7 separate regions of the Homo sapiens genome follow, and all the other regions are linked to region 2. The links are contacts of gene promoters, found by promoter capture Hi-C in blood cells and fetal thymus (Javierre and others, 2016). All regions are on one chromosome and are shown on one strand. The core of a region is centred on a gene start or on the middle of the fragment in contact, and the rest is flanking DNA. Distances in the headings are between cores, read along the strand shown.

The links. The method cuts DNA at HindIII sites, captures the fragments that hold promoters and counts their contacts. A CHiCAGO score of 5 or more calls a contact.
Region 1: a contact is called between a fragment that was not itself captured here and the fragment with the promoter of CHRM3 in region 2, in 6 of 17 cell types (naive CD4 T cells, naive CD8 T cells, total CD4 T cells and 3 more). The highest score is 10.2, in naive CD4 T cells.
Region 3: a fragment that was not itself captured here is called in contact with the fragment with the promoter of CHRM3 in region 2 in 5 of 17 cell types (total CD4 T cells, activated CD4 T cells, naive CD4 T cells and 2 more); the score reaches 7.9 in total CD4 T cells.
Region 4: a fragment that was not itself captured here is called in contact with the fragment with the promoter of CHRM3 in region 2 in 1 of 17 cell types (naive CD4 T cells); the score reaches 6.6 in naive CD4 T cells.
Region 5: a contact is called between a fragment that was not itself captured here and the fragment with the promoter of CHRM3 in region 2, in 8 of 17 cell types (activated CD4 T cells, naive CD4 T cells, naive CD8 T cells and 5 more). The highest score is 10.6, in activated CD4 T cells.
Region 6: a fragment that was not itself captured here is called in contact with the fragment with the promoter of CHRM3 in region 2 in 11 of 17 cell types (total CD4 T cells, non-activated CD4 T cells, total CD8 T cells and 8 more); the score reaches 17.8 in total CD4 T cells.
Region 7: a fragment that was not itself captured here is called in contact with the fragment with the promoter of CHRM3 in region 2 in 6 of 17 cell types (naive CD4 T cells, naive CD8 T cells, activated CD4 T cells and 3 more); the score reaches 7.9 in naive CD4 T cells.

The regions. Positions count from the first base shown.
Region 1 is chr1:239,806,382-239,810,243 of GRCh38, forward strand. All of the region lies in intron 5 of CHRM3 (cholinergic receptor muscarinic 3), which reads left to right. Among named protein-coding and RNA genes, the nearest start is that of CHRM3-AS2, 89 kb to the left of the region's middle. RefSeq lists an enhancer at 3,426-3,862. The HindIII fragment of the contact is 4,094 bases long and covers 1-3,726 here.
Region 2 is chr1:239,384,460-239,387,993 of GRCh38, forward strand. CHRM3 (cholinergic receptor muscarinic 3) reads left to right here and starts at 2,109. Exons shown (of 7, transcript NM_001375978.1): 1 at 2,109-2,768. RefSeq lists enhancers at 2,831-3,331, 3,332-3,534. The HindIII fragment of the contact is 9,736 bases long and covers 1-3,534 here.
Region 3 is chr1:239,788,673-239,792,135 of GRCh38, forward strand. The region is part of intron 5 of CHRM3 (cholinergic receptor muscarinic 3); the gene reads left to right. Among named protein-coding and RNA genes, the nearest start is that of CHRM3-AS2, 71 kb to the left of the region's middle. The HindIII fragment of the contact is 5,345 bases long and covers 1-3,463 here.
Region 4 is chr1:239,769,842-239,773,733 of GRCh38, forward strand. All of the region lies in intron 5 of CHRM3 (cholinergic receptor muscarinic 3), which reads left to right. Among named protein-coding and RNA genes, the nearest start is that of CHRM3-AS2, 53 kb to the left of the region's middle. The HindIII fragment of the contact is 1,598 bases long and covers 1,826-3,423 here.
Region 5 is chr1:239,857,349-239,860,891 of GRCh38, forward strand. The region is part of intron 6 of CHRM3 (cholinergic receptor muscarinic 3); the gene reads left to right. Among named protein-coding and RNA genes, the nearest start is that of CHRM3-AS1, 41 kb to the right of the region's middle. The HindIII fragment of the contact is 4,131 bases long and covers 1-3,543 here.
Region 6 is chr1:239,875,969-239,879,367 of GRCh38, forward strand. All of the region lies in intron 6 of CHRM3 (cholinergic receptor muscarinic 3), which reads left to right. Among named protein-coding and RNA genes, the nearest start is that of CHRM3-AS1, 22 kb to the right of the region's middle. The HindIII fragment of the contact is 5,293 bases long and covers 1-3,399 here.
Region 7 is chr1:239,827,072-239,830,675 of GRCh38, forward strand. It overlaps CHRM3 (cholinergic receptor muscarinic 3), which reads left to right. Exons shown (of 7, transcript NM_001375978.1): 6 at 181-307. Among named protein-coding and RNA genes, the nearest start is that of CHRM3-AS1, 71 kb to the right of the region's middle. The HindIII fragment of the contact is 9,020 bases long and covers 1-3,604 here.

The DNA of each region.
Region 1 (3,862 bases), core at 430-2,929, 420 kb after region 2:
AACACACACACACCTGTGGACATCCAGGATGGAGTTACACACACACACACACACACACACACCCCTGTGGACATCCAGAGATTGTAATTGTTGAATCTATTGGGAGCAGATGGGTGTGCTTAGGAAAAAATAGGATTGACTGCAGGAATTAAATGGAGAGCAGTAAGTGAATTAGTAGGCCAGATGCATTAGGCCTGCATAGTTGCAAGTCACGTGGCTGGGAGTGTGGGGATGAGCCATACAGGCAGGGCTTCCTCTTGGAGACGAAAGTTACTGTGTTCGCTTTGAGAAACGCACATATTGTAGATATTGTAGAAAACATACACATACCTGCATGCTATCTCTGCTTTCTAAAAAAGAGGTACATTTTAACTTTTTAATTTCTTTTAGTTGTTCAGAATAGGCAATGCTGGCCAATAAGGAGAAATGCTGGAAGAAGAGATAGAGTATCTGGCAATACTAGGTGTACTTCCATTACCTTTCAAGGCGTAAAATTAATAAACTGTTCACAGAAGAATTCCAAAGAAGCGTACATTCTGTTTTGAGAGTAGTACCTGCCGTCATTCCATAGGCTGCACCCAAGCCAGAGAATATTCTACTTGTTCCTGGCTCCACATGAGTTTTGATGGTGATAATAATGAAAATTTCCATTAATATAATTTCTTTATTTGGGGTTGGTATTAGATGATTGCATCCAAAAGCAAAATGTGATGATTTGACAAATATTTTCTTCTGCAGGTTTTGATTGTGAACACAATAAGAACATAAAAGAAATAAAAGTCCTATTTAGGTGGAAGATTATGTGACTTTTTAAACTTTAAAATGCAGTTTCTTTTTACTTCATTAGAGAAAGAAAAGTAGCTCCAACTCCTTAATACATCATTCTAAATAATTCTTCTTCTGGCCTTTTTATTATTGGATTTTCATTTATAGTACTATGGCAAGAATAATGTTTACAGATTGGCACAACCTGAAAAAGTCACCTTGTTTAAAATTGACCTACCATTTAAATATCATCATTTTGGCAATGAACACCTTCTAAACTTATCCTTCTCAATTGTGGGCATTAAGCCCATAAATAGGAATGCTACAGGGGGAATGAAAGGAGGGGTTACTTCCACCAGAAGAGAAGCCTTGGAGAAGTGAATGGAAAATGTTGCCTCTGTTTAGCATGAATGAGCCTGGGATTTAAATAACATTCTCAGGCCAGATAAATAGTTTTTCTTTGGCTTAGTAATCATGCATTGCATTCAGATATTTAAGTGAAATGTTTCTGGCTTTCCTCACTTCATCTTTGATCTTTACATGCTCTGTTAAATTTTAGCTCATCAACTTAATCACATTAAAAATCTCATTTATACCTTTTAGTATATAGAAGAGAAGCAGATTTGCTGTAAGAAACTGAGAGTACATGTAATTGAGTGTTTTTGCTTTGCGCACACACACACACACACACACACACACATACACACACACACGCACACATATCCCAAAATGCTGGGATATTCCAGAGTGATAAAAGAATTTGCTGCTTGGTGGCTGCATCATAAGTCATTATGATTATCTCATTATTCTTTTCTTCCCTCTGTTTCAAGCTGTTCTGCAATGAATATTCATTAGTTATATAAAACATGAAGTTTTTTAAAGAAACATATTCCAAAATTCCTTGGAATTCTTTATCGGTAATCGTCTGCCTTTTTATTTTTTGAAAAACTGGTTGTTTTGACCCCATATCTGACTAGCCCCAAAGTCCCAGTGTTTTGATGGGAGTTCAAATTCCATGGGAGTTCGAGGAAGACAGCCCTAGAGAAAGCTCTCCAGCTCCCTGTGACAAGTCGTAGCTGAAGTCAGATGTGCAGAAAGGAATTGCAATACTTTTTTTTGTTTATCCTCGTATGTGACCTTCAGGCAGAGTAAATCAGTACAGCTCTGATACCACTCAATAAAATGCTAGGTCATTTTATGGACAGGATTAATCTGCAACAGAGAAGGTGGAGATTCATGTTGGACATACGAACAAAGGGAGACAGAGTTTGCCCTAGAATGACACTGTGGGTAAGGGGACAGCTTCATCCTGCCTTAATTACCTGCTGTGTGAACTGTTTTCACTCCTGTGCGAGTGATCTTTCCCAGCTGTAGTACGAGATCAAATCTAACGGAATAAAGATGAGAGTCTCTTATTTGCCACCTAAAATGCCTAGCGATAGTTTTTGCCATATCGATTGGACCAATTCTTCGTGATAAGCCCTACCGCTTCCTATAACTAGAAGTGGATCATGAAGGAAATGCGAGTGAACCACTGATTTTATTCATAATCTCAGGCTTTTCCTGTACTTTCTGTGATAGCCCTCCAAAGAACTGCCCCAATACTTGCATTTCCTAGAAATACACTGTTTGTGAGAATTAAATCAGCACTCTCTTAGAAAACCCATCAGAAACGACTGCTTGTATTGGTGCAGTGGACAAGCAGTTATTGAAAAGGCCTATTTAGAATACTGCTTTTTCCTACTTGTAAAGTCTTGTCAAGTTCCCACTTAAGCACTGCATGTTACTTTTTACAAAAGGAAGAAATGAAGAAGTTGGTGAGTTGATATTTCCCTCACCCTGTCAAAGTCTGGGTCTTTGACTCTGAAGTCCATTTTTTTTTTTTTTTTTTGAGACAGAGTCTTGCTCTGTCACCCAGGCTGGAGTGCATTGGCGCAATCTCGGCTCACTGCAAGCTCCGCCTCCCGGGTTCACACCATTCTCCTGCCTCAGCCTCCCGAGTAGCTGGGACTACAGGCACCCGCCACCACACCCGGCTAGTTTTTTTGTATTTTTAGTAGAGAAGGGGTTTCACCATGTTAGCCAGGATGGTCTCGATCTCCTGACCACGTGATCCGCCCGCCTCGGCCTCCCAAAGTGCTGGGATTACAGGCGTGAGCCACCGCACCCGGCCTCTGAAGTCTATTTTTAATCCAAAGGCCTTAGAAGGTCAACTTCTGAACCCATAAGATTCCAGCAGTGAACCCAATGTCTGTTCGCCCACTTCCTCATTTTTTTCTTTCCATCTTCCCTCACTGTGTCCCCTTCCTAGGAATGAGTCCGAGGTCCACTTACTGTTTTTTTATTGTTTTTTGTTTGTTTGTTTTCTTGAGATGGGGTCTAGCTCTGTGGCCCAGGCTGGAGTGCAGTGACATGATCACAGCTCACTACAGCCTCAACTTCCCAGGCTCAAGTGATCCTCCCACTTCAGCCACCCAAGTAGCTGGGACTACAGGTGCACGTCACACCACCTGACTAATTTTTAATTTTTTTTGTACAGACAGGGTCTCCCTATGTTGCCCAGGCTGGTCTCGAAAGCCTGGACTCAAGCTATCCTCTTGCCTCGGCCTCCCAAAGTGCCAGGATTACAGGCGTGAGCCACCATGCCTGGCCTACTGTAGTTGTTTTCCAATTTGCTTCACCAAAGTCTCCTTTTGTCCTTTCCACTGAGATGTTTGGGCCTTATGAAAAGATAAGAAAGCCACACTCTTCTGCACCTGGGCTGGTAGAGGGATTCAGTAAAGATGAAGGTAGCAGGTAGTGTCTGCTCGACTAAGGAGGAGGTGTTATAGCTATTGCAGATCTTTATCTTGAGACGGGTAAGATTCTGCATCTGCCTTAAGATTCATTGCACTCAAAGGAGGCCGCGTATGGAATGCAGCCACCATTATTGTAGTGTTGATCTGCGTGTGCCAAGCCACAAGCTTGGGGGACAGAAGCTGATCTGTGTGTTGCAGCTGCCAGCATATAATGACTCTTCTTCCACGCATCCTTTTGCATTCCCTAGGGCCGTGATGAAATGCCAGCTGTGAGGTAATCCTCACCAAAAAGGGATCCT
Region 2 (3,534 bases), core at 859-3,358:
ATCTATTAAGTATCCCATTTATATTTTCCTCTGAAATATAATTTGATAAATCTGCTGAATGATCGGGCACCAAGGTCAGGACCAATACCTTATTCAAGCCCAGCATGAATCCACTTACCAAGAAACTGGAGGCAACTCTGTCTAAACTGTAATTTGTTTGATACAAACATGCCATCTACATTTACCTTGTCCATAATGATAATGGGAAGGTTAGCTGAAATCAGGAAATACTGTATTATGAGTTTAGTGACTATTTACAAGTGGAAATGAATTTAATCTGGTATGATTTATTTTACTAAATTGTAGTTGCTTCCTTTTCTTTTCTCACTAGTCACAAATGATTTATTTCAGTATCTTCTCCAGAACATTGCCAGAGGCCAGTCTCAAACTTAACCATTGTATACATACCAGAATATTTTCATTAAAAATTAATAACTTTTGTCTTTCTCTGAAAACTACATAATCACTACTTGTCCATTCTTTTGGTCCTTGCCTGTTCTTTATGGATCAATATTATCAAAGCTACTCCTGTTTCCACAGGCAAATAACAATTCTATGTAATGGGAAAGATATTAAATCCGAATTCATGTTCCTCTTACTAGCTATATAATGGACAATTAAATTATTCCTTTAAATTCCTTTCTCCTTTAGTACACAAGGATAAAATACTCATTTGATTGTTTTAAAGATTAAAGAAGTATCTGAAAGTAACTGTTATATTTTCTTCTGAGAGGTATCCCAATAAAAAGGCTACAATATTGTTATTATTATTACTATTCTAGTATCCTGGATGCAATTTACCTAAGCCTAGATATTTTAATTAATTTAAGTAGCCACATGCTTTCTCACTAGCTATTTTCCCAGCATGATCTCAATCTTTTCTACGCAAAGTTTAGTCTCTTCTCTCCTAAAGATTGTTCTACCTAGAGAAGAATATAGGTTCAGAAAGGAATTCATATACTGGTGTTTCTCTAATCTCTTAGAATTACTTAATTTTTCAAAGAGCTCTATCTTTTCCTATTTATCTTCTTGTTCCAAATAGAATTAAAATCATTTGCTGCCTTTAATATTGTTAAATATTTCATTTCATACTATGCTTCAATTTCTTGCTTTTTTCTTCTTTTTATCTTCCTCCTTCCTTCCTTTTTCTTTCTTTTCTTCTTTTTCAGTTATCATTGTTATGCTTGTCCTTTCTTGTGAGATTCCTCTGTTATCTTTCCTTATGTGCTTTTTAAACAAAACCTCGAGAGTGCCGTGGGACAGCCTCATTGGTATCTTTTCAAATTTGGTATCTCTCCACTTTTTCCTTACATAGTTAGCTGGCAGTAGTACATAATAACCTTTTCTGTCTCTCTCTCTTTCTTTCTTTCTTTCTTTCTTTCTTTCTTTCTTTCTTTCTTAGATTTTCATTCCTCTTGAGCTTTAAAAGACTGGCTAGCAATGTTATATCTTTCATTTTATTTTCTGATTTAAAAAAGTGTGTGTGTGTGTGTGTGTGTGTGTGTGTGTGTGTGTGTGTGTACGCGCGCGCGCGCGCGCGTGCACGTCAGTGTCTTCTTCATGGATGCTTGTCTTATTTTCTCCCAAGGTGTAACTGTCCAGGGAGGGAAAAGTCAAGTCGTCCTCTATTACACTGCTCTGCAGAAACAGACTCACTAAATGTCAAAAAGTAGATGCATCAGACTGTTCCTTAGAGAAAGGTTTGCCATGGAGTCGTATATTGTAACTGAGCTGAAGTTCACTCATCGATAAGTTGTGCCCAAGGAATCGAATTCCTTCCAGTCCTTCTAAGCAGTCCAGGGAAACCAATTTAAAAGCGAACACAACAAAACTAACAGACCGGCAAAATCTATCTTTGAAGCGCCGCGGGAGGCACAATTTGGGAACAGGTGAGGCCATGCTGGGTGGGTGAGGCCCCCCTCTCTCCTGCTTGGTGTTCCGCTTTCAGCCAACCCACCCCAGGAGTACCCTGGGATCTCCTCGCCCCCTGCCAGGCGGAGAACGCGGAGCCCAGCGGGCACGCGGGAATGGAGCTAGGCGCCGGCAGGGCAACTGGGCATGCTCAGAAGCCGGGCAGGTTTTGGTCTCAAGCACGCAGCCTGTGCATTACACCAGCTCTCTCAGTCCGGGGAGGAGGAGGAGCAGGAGGAACGCGAGGAGGAAGGAGAGGAGGAGCGGCCAGCAGTAGCCACGACCGCCACCACCAGGCAGAGGAAGAGTTCGTGGGGAGGAAAAGACCTCTCCTCCCCCTTGGAGCGCCTTCTCTCTGCTTTTGGAGAAAGGGAATACACGATAAAGAAGGAGACGGAAAGAAGAGAAAAAGTGAGGCGGGAGACAGAGGGAAAAGGGCGTGAACAGAAAGGGCCGGAGCGTGCAGGGGAGCACAGGGCGCGGGGGCGGCACTGCCGAGCCGGGAGCGCTGCCGCTTGGGCAGGTGCCGCGGCCGCTGCCCGGAGGCGGCATGTGACGCGCGGCCGCAGCTGCCCGCGGGCGGAGCGCTCTCAGACCCCGGAGCGCACACCGCGGGGCCATCGGTGCCATCGCGGATCTCCAGGCTCCTCATCAGTCCGCCGGGGCCGCAGCAGCGCTTCTGGGAAGACGGGCGATGAACTGAAGGGCGGCTCCGGGCAGGGGGGCACGATCTTAAGGACAGTCGCTCCCTGAACGCGGAGCCGGAGGAGACGAAGGGAAGGTGGAGCGGACGCCACCCGCGCACCGGGCAGGCGCGGAGACCGGCGTGGGACAGCCACCTGGAGCGCAGCTGCCAGGTAGGGACGGCGCCCGCCACCCAGGCGCTGGGCAGAGCGGGTGGCGGTAGCGGCTGACCTGGTTTCTTGCCTTATCTCGTTGCGAAAGGAGGAAAAAGTTTTCGGCGCGGGTAGGAGAGGTCTTGTGTTTGGAGTCCAAAGAAGGGGCTGGGTAGGGACGAGAGAGGCTGTTGATTTGGGGAAGATGGGGGCACTTGAATTCCGACAGCGCGATCTGGTGCGGAGTTGGAGTTCTGGGACTGAGGGTGGGGAACGCCCGCTGGCACTCAAGTGCCCCGAAAGGGACGGGAATCATGCGAGCGGTGGCCGGGAGAGAGTCGGGGACGTCCCACCCCGCTCTCCCTCGCTTCGATTCTCTCTTCGCCACTGCCGGATCTGAGGCTCCAAAGTGCCCGAGCATGAGGAGCTACTGGGCTCCGGGTGTGTTTGTGAGCGCACTCGTGTGTTGAGCGTTTGTCTCCCATCTCCCCATTTGGTTTCCTGTCATTTCTAAGAAGGCTAAAGCTGGCACCCGCCAACCTCGCAGTGGGGCCGCAAGTTCGGATTGCATTTCAGGGGGCGAGAAGGCAAATTTGGCACTTCGAGTAACACTTGGGCGAAGGTACCTAGCCTAGTGCGCATCTTTACTGACCCGGGGAGAGTCTGCACTCGCGAGGCAGCGGCCGCTGGACTGCACCGGTTCTCCTCTTTGGAACACTTCCTCAGCATAGCCTCCTAATAGCGAGGTTAATTTTTGCGTGTTTTTAAACGGCGGGGGCGGGCGGAC
Region 3 (3,463 bases), core at 170-2,669, 400 kb after region 2:
GGAGAATTGCTTGAACCTGGGAGGCAGAGGTTGCAGTGAGCTGAGATGGCACCACTGCACTCCAGCCTGGGCGACAGAGTGAGAATCTGTCTCAAAAACAAAATAAACAAACAAAACAAACAAGTGATAACCCTGAGCGAAAGACTGTAATATACTTTAAATCTACAAAAAATGAAATTTTCATTCAATTGTAAAGTATATTTTATGCCATTTTAATTCTTTGAAAGGATATTTAATGTGTATTAGTTATAGTAATTCTAACTATTATATAACTTACAAACTCTAAAATCCCAGTGGATTAAAACAGCATTATCTTATATTTCGCTTGTGTAAGAGTCCACTTGGGGTCTTCCTGGTCAGGCGTCTTTTCTCTGAGTGATTTGAGGACCATTCCATCCTTTGGCTTCACCATGTTCAAATGTGGTCTCCAAGGTCACACTAAAGGTGTCTTCGTTGCACCCATTCAGAAGAGAAAAGAGCATGTGAGATGTGGTCATTGGAGGGTACTAGACCAGGTTTGAAGTGATGCATATTACGTCTGTCATGTCTCACTGGCCAGTGCTCAAATTATGCCTAATTACAAAGGAGACTGGAAAATGTCATCTAGTTGTATACTCTGGAGGAAGAAAAATTAATTTGGCGAAGATTAAGCAGTCTCTGAACAATAAATAAGCAATATGAAACAGGAATATACTTCTACCATCATTAAGCAGAACACCACTGTCTCAGTGCATTTTGCATTGCTATAAAGGCGTGCCTGAGACTGGGTAATGTATAAAGAAGAAAGGCATATTTGGCTCACAGTTCTGCAGGCTATACAAGAAGTGTGGCACCAACATCTGCTTCTGATGAGGGCCTCAGGCTGCTTCCACTCATGGAGGAAGGTGAAGGGGAGCTGGCATGTGCAGAGATCACATGGAAAGAGAGGAAGCAAGAGAGAGAGTGGGGAGGTGCCAGGCTCCTGTTAGCAACCAGCTCCCTCAGGAACTAAGAGCGAACTTACTCACCATCCCCAACTTCAGGTAGGGCAATAATGTATTCATGAGGGGTCCACCCCTATGACCCAACCACCTCCCATTAGGCCCCACCTCCAACACTGGGGATCAAATTTCAACATGAGGGTTGGAAAGACAAACATCCAAACTTTAGCAACCGCTTTCCCAGCCACACTGGATAAGTGTGGAGTTAGCTCAGTTTTGCAGATTCCTCATTAGTCTTTTGAAGAATAGTTAAGATCAGAGACCTGGATGTGAGACATGGAGTGAAAGGAGATCATTTTGGAGCTTTAAGATTTGACTACCCCACTGGATTTCAGACTTGCATGGGGCCTGTAGCCCCCGTTTGGCGAATTTCTACCATTTGTAACCCGTGTATTTACTCAATACCTGTACCCTAGGTGTATTTACTCAATGCCCGTACCCATTGGATCTAGGAAGTAACTAACTTGCTTTTGATTTTACGGGCTCATAGGCAGAAGGAACTTGTCTTGTCTCACATGAGACTTTGGACTGTGGACTTTCGGGTTAATGCAGAAATGAGCTAAGATTTAGGGGCACAGTTGGAAAGGCATGATTGGTTTTAAAATGTGAGGACATGAGATTTGGGAGGGACCAGGGTAAGAATGATAGGGTTTGGCTGTGTCGCCACCAAATTCTCACCTTGAATTGTAGTAATACCCACACGTCAAGAGTAGGACCAGGTGGAAATAATTTAATCATGGGGGAAGTTTCCCCCAAACTGTTTTCATGGTAGTGAATAAATCTCATGAGATCTGATGGTTTTATAAAGGGGAGTTCCCCTGCACAAGCTCTCTTGCCTGCCACCATGTAAGACATGACTTTGCTCCTCACTCACCTTCCACCATGATTGTGAGGCCTCCCCAGCCATGTAGAACTGTGAGTCAATTAAACCTCTTTTCTTTATAAATTACCCAGTCTTGGGTATGTCTTTATTAGCCACATAAGAACAGACCACTACAATCAGTTTCCCCTGTCTAGCCTGGCAATTGTGGAAACCTAGGCAGAGAATCACAAAGCTGTTAGCAGATCTAAAATTTGAAGAAAAGCTCCCTGACCTCTTTTACAGAATATTAGTTCCTAAACCTCATTAACTTCCTGGAGCACAAATGTGATAGAGCAAGGACTGTGCTTGGGCCTCAAAATATAGCTTTGTGGACATCAGAGTCAATGGCAGGATAAAGTCTCATCTACTCCATAATGTAAAACATGTATAAGTTTGTGAAAAGTACTGTTAAAATGAAAAAGCATGATAAAATTTATTCACAGAAAAACAAGAGAGATTTTATTTTGTTTTTTGTTTTTTTCTGGTAAAATATCACCAAAAAATAGGAAAATATCTGTAGGAGTCGCTCCTGGAGAAAAAAAAAAAAAAACACACAAAACTAGCATGTCCCACAGCTTTTCTTTATTTTTGTTTATTCATTTATTTTTGAGACAGGGTCTCTCACTGTTGCCCATGCTGGAGTGCTGTGATGCAGTCTCGGCTCACTGCAACCTCTGCCTCCCAGGTTCAAGCAATTCTCCTGCCTCAGGCACCTGAGTAGCTGGGATTACAGGCATGCACCACCACATCCAACTGATTTTTGTATTTTTAGTAGAGACAGGGTTTCACCATGTTGGCCAGCCTTGTCTCGAACTCCTGGCTTCAAGCAATCCAACCTTCTTGGCCTCCCAAAGTCCTGGGACTACAGGCGTGAACCACCATGCCCAGCCAGTAAACATTTCTTTAAAAGGGGCATGTTGAGCAATTTCAGTAATACCATGAAAGGATCTGCTAAGCAGGGAGACTTGGGAAGAGTGAGTTGGTAGGATTGTGGCTACCTCTTTAGTGGCTGTAGAAATGTTACTACAGGCATTTCTGTTTTTCTAATCAGTTTTATTTTCTGATGTGTGAGGCAAGGATACATTTTCCCTGCCATCCTAAGACTGGCTTTGCCTTGGGAGATCACAAACCAATCAGAGGGCTCAGTATAATCTCTGCCAGCTCAGAGAGCTTGAGAAAAAAGAAAAGAAAAGAAAGAAAAGGGTTGGTGATATTTCATTAGGCACATAGGCACAGACACTGAGATGGGTAAGAAAGGAGGAAGCAGATCCTCAACGAGTTGTATAAAGAGATGGGCTTGAAAGTCTATGGATTCAGCTGTGAACATGAGACAGCAATGGGGGCATGTGGCTACCAGAAACACAGTGGGTAGATTGGCAGATACAAGACCTACAATAGTGGGTGCATGTGTCTGTAAATATACGTATTCAGTCTTATCAATCCTGCTTCAAATACTGGTTTAGAAAAGAAGAAGACAGAGAAGAGTTCATTGAGAAGGAGACGCATTTGGACAGGTCAAGCTGCGGAATTGGTTTCCTCATTACCCTGCAGTGTGTCTCATTGCTGCTGTGGTCCAAGCTCTGGGTGTCTTCCAGGCTCTCTCTGAGCACCTTGGCCACTG
Region 4 (3,892 bases), core at 1,375-3,874, 390 kb after region 2:
CTGCACTCCAGCCTGGGCAACAGAGCTAGACTCTGTCTCAAAAAAAAAAAAAATTATTTGCGTTGGGCTCACCTGTTTCTTTTAGGGCCATACATCACATTCTTTTTAGCTAAAGTCTGTTACTGGGGCACCTCCCACTTAAAAATTACAAAAACTAACCAAAAAAGCCAAACGTAATGATCTTACCTCATTTTCAAGTACTTTTTAGATTCTGGAGCACTCTGGTTTCATACTCACAAAAGCTCTATATCAAAATACGTTGAACACTGACTGTGGAAAATTCCACAGTGCTTGGAGAGTACAGCCGACCTATGGTATTTTCAGATTTATTAGCTTTCATTTCAAGCATGTGTTGTTGCTCCTAAAATTCACGGGACGTAGGTTTGTGGAGGCCTAGATCTGAATGGGCTCCAAGATCAGTGGGTGGGCCTAGACAGTGTATGTGTTTGCAGATTCATTTGGCTTTGTGGCCCTTTCCTCATCTCAGTTTAATCAGTAATGCCTGTAGTATGGTAAATTTATTTTTTGGCAACAACAACAAAAAAATGGTCAAGTGAAAGACATAATCTTAGTGAAATGTGAAAATTGGTTTAACTTGGGATTTGAGGATATAGACAGGAAATATATGCCCTCCTATGAAGATGTGCTTCAGAAGAAAGCTAAGAGCCTGGATAAAAATTTCAATAATCACGATTTTAAGGGTTCAAGGATCTTTGCCTTAGCCACGTAGTCTGCAGTTATGGGGAATGAAGGAAAGGACTGAGCGGAAGATGACTGCTTGAATGACCAGGAAAGGTTTTCCATGCCCAAGAAAGTAGAGGGACCTGAGTGATGACAGCTGCAGAGGGAACTATTAGACTTAAAATAATTATCATTGGTGATATAAGGAACCACAAGCCTTTGTTCATAATCATGCCTGCTTATCTCAAAATGAAAGTACCCAAGTGAGTTTTATATCAATTTGTCTTAAGATACAGGCTCACACCTGTAATCTCAGCACTTTGGGAGCCTGAAACGAGCAGATCACTTGAGGTCAGGAGTTTGAGACCAGCCTGATCAAAAATGGTAAAACCCTGTTTCTACTAAAAATACAAAAATTAGCTGGGCCTGGTGGTGGGTGCCTGTAATCCCAGCTACTATGGAGGCTGAGGCAGGGGAATTGCTTTAACCTGGGAGGCAGAGGTTGCAGTGAGCCAAGATCATCCTACTGCACTCCAGCCTGGGCAACACAGCCAGACTCCATCTCAAAAAAAAAAAAAGGTGACATTCAAGTAAAACATCCTTTATTAGTTTCACATTTCAGATGATGCTGATTTTTTATTTTCAGTGAATAAGTTACCCAAACTTTTAATCTCAGAAGCATGTTAGCCGCCCTCTCCCTTCTTCATTTCATCCAATTATCATTCTCAATAATTCCTCGCAAATATCTCTTCAGTTCTAGCCTCCTTCCGTTTGCACCTTTGGGCTTGCCTCCTCTCTGCCCTGGATTATTGGAATAGCCTCCTAATTGATCTCATTCCCTGAGACTCCTTGCTCCAGACTCCTCTCCACACTGCCACCTGGATTCCCGCCAAAAAAGAAAAAAGAATGGAAATCTGTTCATACAGCACCTCCACTTCTAGCAAACTCTCCTACAGAAACACTCGCTTCTGAGCACAAAGATGTATCAGGTTATTCGTTGCAGCCTTATTTGTGACAAAATAACTGTGTGACCTAAGTGGACGTCAAGGCAGAAATGATGAAATTCATTCTAGTGTGTACATAATGTAGACCAAGGGTCGGCAAACATTTTCTGTATAGGGGCAGATAGTATTATAATATATCAAGCTTTGAGGGCCATGCAGCCTCTGTCATAATTACTCAACTTTGCCCTTATATCAAGAAAGCAGCCAGAGATAATACACACACAAATGGGTGTGGCTGTCTTCCAGACAGCATGCCACATTTGGCCTACAGGCCCATAGGTTTCAAAGCCCTGTTTTAGATAAATATGCAGATATGAAAAGCAGTGTGGTCAATCTGTATGTGTGGACAGGAAAGGATATCCACAGTATATTCTTAGGTCAAACAGTAAACTACAAAAATATCCTCTATTTCTTTGTGGTTCTATCTTGGTTAAAAAGATAGATACAGAGACAGAGAGGAGATAGAGACATACAAAGAGAAACAAAAGAAAGATAAAATAGGTGATACAGTGTGCGTAAAATTGAAAAGTCCAGAGGAATATACAACAATTGTTATTAGCATCTTCCCCTGAGAGGGGTGGGTATGAAGACAAAGAAAGAAACTTTCCATTTCTATGTATATACTTTTCTTTTTTTTTCTTTGAGACGGAGGTTCACTCTGTCACCCGGGCTGAAGTGCAATGGCGCAATCTCAGCTCATTGTAACCTCTGCCTCCCGGGTTCAAGCGATTCTCTTGCCTCAGCCTCCCGAGTAGCTAGGATCACAGGCATGCACCGCCACAACCGGATAATTTTTTGTATTTTCGTAGAGATGAGGTTTCACCATGTTGCCCAGGCTGGTCTCGAACTCCTGACCTCAGGTGATCCGGCCACCTCGGCCTTCCAAAGTGCTGGGATTACAGGCATGAGCCACCATGCCCAGCCTATACTTCCTTGTTATTTAAATTTTTACATGATTGTGTATTATAGTTATCTTACAGAAAAACGTTGAAGTAATGAATCATCTCCCCAGATCCGACCCTATTCTCTGCTGTTTAAAGGCCTTCTATTGTTCTACGTTGTCTACAGGCTAAGCTCTAAGCAGTTTGTCAGAGCATTTACAGCAGTTTACAGTCTGCTCTGGTCTCATTTCCTATCTTCCAGTCCTTTTTTGCAAATTCTCCTACCCCACTGTACATGATGCCTTTCTGTGACTCCCTCTCTATACAATTACCCCTTGTTTCTCTGAATAGCTTTTGCCCTGCTTTTCCTTCCAACAAGCTCTTACCCATACCTCACTGCCGCAGCCAGATATCCCTCCTCTCTCATGTCTTTCCTGTCCCCTAAAGGCAGAAGTTGCTTCCAACATTTTATTTTAATGCATACGTGTTTCTATTTTTCATCTCCACTGTCAGACTAAGTGTCTTCAAGCAAGGATGTTGTTTTGTCATTTCTGAATCCCCACACTCAGCACAGAGCCTAGCACCTGGTAAACACTCATTCAATCTATACAGAGGAAGACTTTTTTGAGATGTTTTGAGATTCTTAGTGATATGATAGGGAGATTTTGACACTGAAATTTAAAATGTTTGGGAAAGTCTACAACATACACTCATATGTCAACAATTTTTAAATGTCCTGATCTAGGAAAGGGTTACTCACTAATGATCTGTAAGAGGGGAGTGCATACTTGGGTCTGCTGTACCACCGAAAGGTTGTAGGTATTCTCAGCATCTTCTAAGTAACCAACACAAACCAAAGCTTTTTACATTGTTCATCGAATAGCACATTCTAGTCTAAGTTGACTTTATAGCTATATTTATCAGCTGCAATTAATAAAATACCCTATTATTAATGACTTAAGTAACTGTTTACTTATCTCAAATATGAAGAGGTCTGGAAGAAGGTAGTTGCTGCTATTGAATTAACTACTTAACCCTGGCATTAAGAGAACAGCCTCTTTCCATCTTTACTTTTGCTATTTCTTACTATGTTGGGTTTCATTCCCATTCTCATTGCTTTGTATAACAGTTGCAAGGTGTCTACTGCACTACCAGAAATCACAGCCACATTCCAGGCAGGAATGAAAGTAAAGGAGCAAAAGACTTTCTTTTCTTTGTCTTATAATTCTGAAAAGGAAGTCCTCACTAGCAGTCCTACCTTCCATTGGCCCCTCACACTTGGCCCTTTAGCTATCAATCACTAGTCAAGGGAAATAAGATGAAGAT
Region 5 (3,543 bases), core at 521-3,020, 470 kb after region 2:
ACTATCTAAAACTAAGGAGCCTTTCCCAAGTTAGTTTATTATGATACTACCACGAATAAGTTAAATATTAATCTGTTCCCTAAAGATAAGTTTTATTGCTTTGAAGGATGAAAAAAATATGAAATAATCACTTTGTGTGAGGTGTGTCTGTGTTTGTGTGTGTGTGAAGTAAAAATCAAGTTAGGAATAAAACATCTTTTTAAAGTTTATCTTATAATTCCAAACGAATCCCTGGAAACTGAACTACTGTGTGCCATTTGTTTTTGTTGAAATGGTTGTTAAATTATTCTGATTATTTAGCGATGCCAGAGGCTCTCTTAGAGTAATTTGATATATCACTCGGTGTCTTTGTTTCACCTCAGCTAGGTCCAGAAAGAGACCTGGAAGGGAGGTGGATAATCATAATAAATGAAAGCCAGCCTTTCTAGTTTAGTTATGCACAAAGGTTAAAATAATTTGTTAGCCAACAAAGTGTTTGTGCAATTACCATAGGTCTTTAATCATGTTTTGCCACTATTGCCACCTGTCTGAAATCTTAGACATCTTATGTTCTGTTATAACATTATTTGAAGTTGCCCCGAACATTATCTTATGTGATCCCTCAGAAAAAGGGGGAATTAATTGACATATATTATTGATATATATTATTAATTAAAATAGTTCATACTTTAATAACATGGCTATAAATGTGTATGTGGTTCCTACTGTGTCTCATCATAATTCTCATTGGTTACCAAAGAGCAAGATGACTTCACTTAATTCACTTAATGATGCACTAATTAGAAAGGAAGAACACTTCAACAATTAAATCCATTGACCAGTTTTCAATAGCTCTCCCACGCTGGCATCCTTGCTGCGATTTCACAATATTGCAGAACCAAGTGACATTGTTCTTTAATCATACACATGAATGCATTCACTCTAAGTATATGTTGAGTCATCCCTTTCCTTCTCCACCCTTCCCCCTTTAGAGCTCGGTTTTAGCTTTTATTGTCACTTGAATCAAATCAAAGAACAGCAGAAAAGAATAACATGAGGAATGTAAGTATCGTAGTTGGAGTCTGACTACCTGAAATCAGACTATCTAGATTCCTGTTTTGGTTTTTCCTCTAACTACCTGTGAAACCTGAAGCAAGTGTCTTAACCTTTATGTGCCATAGTATTTTCATTTGGAAAAAAAAAAAAAAAGAGAATAATTGTACTTGCCTCTTACAATTTGGGTTTTTTGCGTTTGTTTGGTTTTTTAAGGTAGAATTTATATAACGTAAAATTAGTCACGAATCATTTTAAAGTGTACACAATTCAGTGGCATTTAATTCATTCAGTGTTGGTACCTGTCATCTCTTTCTAGTTTCACAGCATTCTCATCACCCTAGAGGAAGCCCTGCATCCATTAAGCAGTGACTCCCCATTTGTTCCTAGAGCCCCTCCCCCAGCAGCTACCAGTCTGTTTTCTGTGTCTATGGATTTGCATATAGTGGATATTTTATATAAATAGAATTGTATAGTATGTGACCATTGGTGTCTAGCTTCTTTTGCTTAGCAGAACGTTTTTGAGATCCATCCACCTTGTACCACGTGTTCCATTTTATGGCTGCCTAATCATCCATTGGATGCAAATACCACATTTTTATCCATTCATCAGTTGATGGAAATTTGAGTTGCTTCCACCTTTTGGCCATTATAAATAAGGCTGCTATGAACATTTATGTACAAGTTTCAGGTAGACATATGTTTTCATTTCTTCTGGGCATATACCTAGTAATGGAATTACTGGGTCATGTGGTAATTCTACGTTTAACCATTAAAATAATTTATGGACTGTTTTCTAAGATGGCTGTAACATTTTACATTCTCCCAGCGGTGTATGAGAGTTTGTTTTTTCACATCCTCACTAATACTTGTTATGTTCTTTTTTGTTTGTTTCTATTTGGTTTTTATTTTGGCCAACCTGTTGGCCATAAAGTGGTATCTCACTGTGGTTTTTGACTTCCATTTTCCTAATAACAAATGAAGTTGAGCATCTTTTTATGGATTTGTTGGCCTGTTTTTTTTGTTGTTGTTGTTGTTGTTTTTTTTTTTTGTTTTTTTTTTTGAGGTGGAGTCTCACTCTGTTGCCCAGGCTGGAGTGCAGTGGCACAATTTCTGCTCACTGCAAACTCCGCCTCCCGGGTTCAAGCCTCAGCCTCCCAGGTAGCTGGGATTACAGGCATGCACTACGATGCTCAGCTAATTTTTAGTATTTTTAGTAGAGATGGGGTTTCACCATGATGGCCAAGCTGGTTTCAAACTCCTGACCTCAAGTGATCCGCCTGCCTCAGCCTCCCAAATTGCTAGGATTACAGGCGTGAGCCACCACTCCCAGCCATACTGTTTTTTAAATAAAGATTTATTGAAAAATAAGTTGTATTTATGTAGTGCATGCCGTATATCAGGCATTGTTCTAAATTATATATAAGTTCTAAGTGTTTTATATATATATATATATATATATATATATATAGTCATTTAATCTCAAAATAAGTATAGTATTATTATACGTAAAGCATGTGGACCAGTACTTTGCAAACAGTAAACCAAAGAGAACAAGCATGTCCCCAGGTGAACTCTAAAAGACCTTCAGGAATACTCTGAAACCAAGCCTCCAACAATGCAGACTGCAGTGTGTAGCCCAGAGAACCCGACAGTCGGCTGGTTGAAAGGAAGCACCCATTCTCTAAATTGTATGCAGCCACACAGAAAAGAAAGCAGCCTAAAAAATTGGCAGATGATTAGAATTTCTCAGGGAGTTGGAGCTGAACACTAAACTCAAATCAGAGCATCTCTATTCCAATGTCAGCTCTTCATTTACTAGGTCTGTGACCTTAGGCAATTCACTTAATTACATAAACAAGTCTGATATTGCATTTATAAAATGAAACCATAATAATCTTTATGAAAATTCACTGTAAGCTATAAAAGTACTATACAAAAACATTATTACTAAATGTATGAATACCCACATTTCTGCATTTAACAGCAAACATGGTATAAAAGCATACATGCATTTTAAAATTAAAATTATTATAGATATGCTTATCTATTAATTATTTCTAAATATACATGTACAGGCTGAGTATCTTTTCCCTGAAATGCCTGGGACCAGAAGAGTTTCAGGTTTCAGACTTTTTAGGATTTTGGAACATTTGCACATACATCAGGAGATATCTTAGGGGTGTGACCCAAGTGTACACATGAAATTTATGTTGCAGACACACCTTATACACATAGCCTGAATGTAATTTCATGCAGTGTTTTAAATAATTTTCTGCATGAGGCAGAGTTTGTGTTAAGTACTTATGTGTCAAATTTTCCCCTTGTGGTGTCGTGTCATGTCAACACTCCAAAAATGTCAGATTTTGGAGCATTTCAGATTAGGGATGCTCAACCTGTAGCAAGTGATAGGGTAGAATTGATAAATCAGTCTGTGTAGCTGAAATTCTTAGTGCCAAATATACCAGTAGTTTAGTTCATCAAAAAATCTGAAGCATTTTAAATACCCTT
Region 6 (3,399 bases), core at 574-3,073, 490 kb after region 2:
AGCATCCCTTATAATAGACTACACCTCAATCCTTGAATTGTGGAGGTGAGAGCATCAAAAAAGCTGATTGCCATACCTTTCCCACTGGTGACGTGCTAAAGAACTCACTTTTGTTTCTCATTCAAAACCCGAAAGTGGCAAATATGTTCAGCTCGTTGGTCCAGTTTAATCTCTCGTTCAGATCTTAGTAGTATTAGCCCATTCTATAGGAATTATTTGAATAGCCAGCTTCATTTTAAGACATCTTCTTATATAACTGAACAATTAATTATACACAGACATAGTCCACTCCCTTCATATTGATCTTGTTTCTGAATATTAAATTATTGGTATGCATTTATTGTTAACACAACATTGCTATGGCTTATATCAGTTTTGGAAACCAGCTGGAGGTAGTGTAAGCAAAAGGGCGGATTGGTGACATGATAGCGAGGTATCTCAGGCAATCCGAGGGCAAGAAGAGAGCCAGGCTTATGGAAGGCCCTAACTGGAACGTGGAAAGCCATTAGGATCCTAGCAGTTCTGTGTCTTCAGCTGTGCCTCAGTTTCCTCTGCAAACCAACTCTCTCTATGTCTCTATATAAATGGTGAGTGGAAGATGACATTCATAGATATACATCTCCACTGTGCATGAGACCAGCCTCCACCATGGGATGCACTGACTGCCGTTCAGTCCCAGATATGCATTCCTGGGACAGAGGATGCCATCTGTCCTGTTCTGGTCAATCACATGCCTCAGAAGGGCAGGAATAAACAGCAGAAAGTAGGAAGCCAATTGAGGTTACTCGGCCTTTGGGGTATGCTATATATATGTCTCTCTCTTTGGGTTAGGCTGACAATCAGTTCCCTAGTGTTTACTCAGCACTCACTTCATGACCCTTACTCTTATTTGCTTAGCTTGGGGTTTCATCAAAGCAGGCACATTTGCAAGAAGTCATCTACTTATTGAACAACTCTCAGGAAAAGACATAAATGTCATTTTGTTTTCACCTTCTATGAATCATAGTTGGTATCTTCAACAGAGACAGCAAGTGCAAAATGTCTGGAAAAATCTCTGAGTTAGAAAAGACTTACAGAAAATAAGCAAATTTAGGTTAAAAATGCCCCATCTCTCTCTTTTTCTGAAACCCAGACATACACACACAGAGTCATCCTGTTTGCTTGCAATTTTAATCTATAAAAGGTACTCATAGGTAATTTAAATTCTAGTGAATCATCCCTTTGGAAACTAATTGAAAGTTTTTTTATTTTGAAATATCAAGGCATTTTTCTTTAAAATTCTATAGGAAGTTAGGGGCTTCAGGGGAGCCACAGTTTTATTTTTTAAAAGCATAAAATGGCAGTGGCACATGCCTGTAGTCCCAGCTAATAGGGAGGCTGAGGCAGGTGGATCACTTGAGGCCAGAAGTTCAAGGCCTGCCTGGTCAACATAGCAAGACCCCATTTCTATAAAAATAAAAAAAAAAAGAAAGGAGAGAATAAAATGAATGGCTTTCAACTACGTGGTGAATAAACCCTAACTGGTGAATAATAATGTCAGTTTCCTTTTAGTTAACACCTGTTACATGCCAGATACTGCTATATATTATTTATAACTTTCAAAACTGCTGCAGAAAGTAATATCTCCATTTTATAGATGCAGAGACTGAGGCTAAGAAAGGTGAATTGAATTTCTTAAGGCCGTACAGCTCTGTGAAAGAATTCAAACCCAGGTGTCAATGGGCTGCTTCATGCTTCTTCTCATGAGGGGAAATATTCAGATTTTTTTTTTCTTTCTACAGATAATGCCATATCCAGCAGTCCCCTTTTGGCACCAGGGACCAGTTTTGTGGACGACAATTTTTCTGTGATGGGGAGGAGAGGAGGGGGTGGTTTCTGGATGATTCAAGTGCATTACATTTATTGTGCACTTTATTTCTTTCTTTTTTTTTTTTTTTAATGAGACAGAGTCTCGCTCTATCGCCCAGGCTGGAGTGCAGTGGTGCGATCTCAGCTCACTGCAAGCTCTGCCTCCCAGGTTCATGCCATTCTCCTGCCTCAGCCTCCCGAGTAGCTGGGACTACAGGTGCGTGCCACCACACCCGGCTAATTTTTTGTATTTTTAGTAGAGACAGGGTTTCACCATGTTAGCCAGGATGGTCTCGATCTCCTGACCTTGTAATCCACCCGCTTCGGCCTCCCAAAGTGTTTATTTCTATTATTATTACATTATAATATATAATGAAATAATTATACAATTCACCATAATGTAGAAGCAGTGGGAGCCCTGGGCTTATTTTCCTGCCACTAGATGGTCCCATCTGGGGGTGATGCAAGACAGTGACAGATCATTAGGCATTAGATTCTTATAAGGAGCACACAAGCTAGATCCTTCGCAAATGCAGTTCACAATAGGGTTTGTGCTCCTATGAAAATCCAATGCTGCTGCTGATCTGACAAGAGGCAGAGCTCAGGCAGTCATGAGAGTAATGGGGAGCAGCTGTAAATACCGATGAGGCTTCGCTTGCTGGCCCATACTCATCTCCTAGTGTGTGGCCCAGTTCCTAACAGGCCACAGACTGGTACATGTCTGTGGCCTGCATCTTGGAGATCCCGGCTATATACAGTAATGACTATCTTCTCAGTATTTTAAATTTTTTTTTTTTAATGAAATCTCTCTTCTTTCTCCCTCACCATATATACCATATATATGCCCTATATATCCATGCACTGACTCTGGGCCAGGTAGCTTGTCGGACATGAGGGCAAAGGGGATGATTAAGACCAGGCTTCTGCCCTCAGATGATTACAGGTGTTAAGGGAGGTGAGAATCAGATAGTTAAAATACAGGTCAGTTTACTCATTGCCACGTGAGGGTACATGCTGGTCACTCTGTAACTGCCTAGATGGGACACCCCTAATTCAGCCTGAGGAGGAAGGGCTCCAGCAGCATCTCGCTGGGGTTGACCAGGTGGCCATGGAGGGTAAGACAGGACTTTACAGGTCTACAGTGGCAAGTGCAGAGGTACAACAGAGAGAATGAATCCAAACTCCTTTACGTCAGGGGTTTTCAAATTTAAGTTTGCCTCAGGATTGCCTGGAGAACTGGTCTAAGCACTGATTGCTGGGTATCACCCCCAGAATTTCCAAGTCAGCAGGTCTAGGATGGGGCCCAAGAATGTGCATTTCCATTTTTTTCTTAAGACAGGGTCTCACTGTGTTGCCCAGGCTGGAGTGCAATGGCCTGATCATAGTTCACTGCAGCCTCAAACTCCTGGGCTCAAACAGTCCTCTCACCCCAGTTTCCCAAAGTGCTGGGATTACGGGTGTGAGCCAACGCACCCAGCTTGTGCATTTCTGTGAGGCTCCCAGGAGATTCTGCTGCTGCTGGCCCACCCTGCGAAGCACCACCTGAAACAG
Region 7 (3,604 bases), core at 399-2,898, 440 kb after region 2:
TAACACTTAGGTAACTTGCTACTGAAATAGTCCCTTTCTTTTATGACTTCAGTTGAAGACTCTAGGGAGGGAAAACAGAGACATTGGATCATTCTATGATGCTTAATGACTCCACCATTAAAAACAGGAATCCAAAGTGGGAGAAGGAACTGACTCCTTGCCTGGTTTCTGTCTTCCCAGGTGGAGCTGGTCTCTTGGGCAGCCTGACATCTGGTCCACTCCTCTGTCCTATGCCGGGATCATCATGACCGTAGAGATTATGTCACTGTTTTGCATCCTTGTTACATAACTCAGTTCCTGGTAGATTGTAAGTACACAGAAGGCATTTTTTTAATTAAAAAATGGATGACTGAATAGAAGAATGGACAAATTGCCTTTTTGTATTCTGGCCACTGTTGATTAGTTACGTGACCTCAATTAGGATATTTTAACTCTGTGTGTCTTTGTTTCCTCATTTATATGTTGAAGGTAATGATAGTTCCTACCTACTGCACAGGCTTCTTGAAGATTAAATGACATAGGGTGGGTAAAAGGTTTAGACTAGTACCTAGAAATAGCACGTTTCACTAAAAATTACCTATTACTCATATTATTTTTGCTAAGTGATTGTATAAACCTAATAAACATCATATATTTTACTATGCACAGATAATTTAAAAATCTTATAAATACAAATTTAACCCACAAAAAAAAATTCAACATAGTTGCCACCTAACAATAAAACCTTCCCTGCTCATTAATTCATTCGAGGCAGTAAGTCACATTGAACTGCAAATATTTTTACAGTGTCTAAGTGTGAAAAACTAGAATACCTTTAATGTATTTTAAATTAAAAAATCATTATAAAGTGCAGCATGTAATTCTTTACATTCTTTTTTCTAACACCTAGGAGACAATTTAACTTTGTGTTTCAGATATCTGTTATCATAAATTATTCATTCCTCATTCAACACATATTTATTAAACACCTACTACGTTCTAGATACAAGGGAGGCAATGGTGAAGTAAACACAGCTACTGCTCCCTTTGAGATTCTGTTTCTGTTAGGAAAAAGAAATACACGCACACAAATACACACATGGTGACACAGAGATACACATATATACACATACGGATATTCACACATAGATATAGACACATACATACATACATAGACACACATAGTTACACACACATAGATATACATACACATAGATACATTCATAAATACACACATAGACACATGCACATAAATATACACGTGTGTATACATACATACAGATATATACACATATATATATGCACCTATATAGGTACACATACATAGATACACACACAGGTGTATATATACACACACTTATACACACACAATGTTGTGGGACCATAACTGGCATGAAGAAAAATTATTACAAAGGGTAGAGCATGAATAAGATGGCTTCTATAGCGTATTCAGGGAAGGACAGTCTAATATAATAACATTTAAGCAAAGAACTGATTGAAGTGAGGGTGCTCTCTGGGAAGGGACCAGGTCAATGAAGACAAACGAGGAGGTGCAAAAGCCTGAGGTGGGAGCACATTTGGAGTATTCCCGGAACAGCATAGATGCAGAACGGACAGAGAACAGTGGGCAAGGGGAGAGGGGTATGAGAGAAGGTCGGGAAGGCACCTGGGAGCTAGAATATCAATGCAGATTTTGCTCTAAGAAAATGGAGGATATCAGAGGGACCCTGTGCTAAGGAATGATGTGATCTGAGTTAGGTTTTGGAAGTGTCACTCTGCCTGCTGTGCGGATAGCGGATGGGAGGAGATCTAAGATGAACAAAGGAAATCACTTCAGAGACTTTCAGGAAATGGTCATGGCTTGGACTAAGATTTGGGGCAAATTTAAAGTAGAGCCAAAGGGACCTGCTGATGCATGGGATGCACACTATGAGGGCTAGATCTGTGACTATATGTGACCTGCTGCAGCAGGTGTGCAGACACTTGCTTTCTTGAAATGTCCTTGACGTTGCTTTTGTTGTTGCTGTTATTGTTTTGCTTTGTTTTAATTTCTTTCCATCTCTGTGATTAAAGCAGAGTGAAGTTAATGAATCTCTGTGGCGAAGTGGATTGTTTAACTGTAGGTATGAGTAGAACTGGCAGTTCTAAGTCTAATTCCAACAGTGGGAATTTTGGCCCTTCTGAGCTTCGGTTTCCTCAATTATAAAGTAAGAAAAACCGCTAGCTTTGCAAGTCTGTGCCTCTCCTACCAAAAGCTATAGTATTGGTGTCAGTTTGGTCAAAGATTTTCCCAGTTGGTACAGCCCCCTGGGACTGGGAAGGCATTAGTTCAATTGACTGCAAGGACTGAATGATTTTTTTTTTTGAAAAAGAAAAGAAATTTTAAATTTTTTATGTTGATTGGCTTGGTTTCCATTGAGATCAAGGATTATTCCAGCAACTTTAGTTATAAAACACCTGCTATCTGTTACTGTATTTTACTTTCTATACCAAAAAAGCATGTATTTTCAGATAAATTTCAATATATCAATCTTTTGTGTTTCATCTTATAACAGTTTTACTAAAAATTGTTTGACTCATGTGGTCTTCAGGTTGGGGAAGGCTAGGACAGATGGCACAGCAGAGTGGTTAAAGCAGGGTCTCAGAGGCAGACTGCCTCGATGTGAAACCCAGCTCTGCCACTTACTGTGTGACCTTGGGAAAATTACTCACCCTCTCTGTGCTCAATTTCCCTATCTCTAAAATGGGAATAACAGTAGTACTTCCCTCAGAGCCTCAGAATTGCTAGGGTAATCAAATGACTTAATGTCCAATAAGCACTTAGAACATTGCCTGACACATAGAAACACCAAATAAGAGCCCCTTATAATTACTATTTTTGTCTCTACTCAAATACTGTACCTGCCTCTATTTTTGAAGAATTTGAAAAATACTTGATATTTGAAATCTCTGCGATTATTTCAAGGAATTTAATAGCAAAATGATACCTGGGCCTTGGAACTGTCATTTAGGATGGACTGTTTGTGAAATATGCCTTTTTAAAACATCATGGATTTTCAAATCTGAAAGAACTCAGTTCATCCTGCCCTGCTCATTTAGTGGGCCTAAGTATTTGTGGAAATTCTTTCTGAGCTTATATTCATACATCTGTCAAATAAAGATTAAAATATGTACTTCTTGAGGTTGCTGTTAGGACTAAAAGAGATAATACATGCAAAATGCTAGAAAATATATTAATATTACATTCTTTACCTCTCCACCCTCAGTCAAAATATGTGTGACTTAAAGCGGTGTATGTGAAATTTAACATGATGCCTTCAGGATTCAGAAATGAAATGTCTGTGGAACACACATGGATAAGAGTTGCTTACTGCTTGGCACAGTGGCTCACGCCTGTAATCCCAGCACTTTGGGAGGCCGAGGCGGGCGGATCACGAGCTCAGGAGTTCGAGACCAGCCTGGACAATATGGTGAAACCCCGTCTCTATTAAAAATACAAAAAAACTAGCCAGGTGTGGTGGCGCGTGCCTGTAGTCCCAGCTACTTGGGAGGCTAAGGCAGGAGAATTGCTTGAACCCAGGAGGCGGAGGTTGCAGTGAGCCAATATTGTGCCACTGCACTCCAG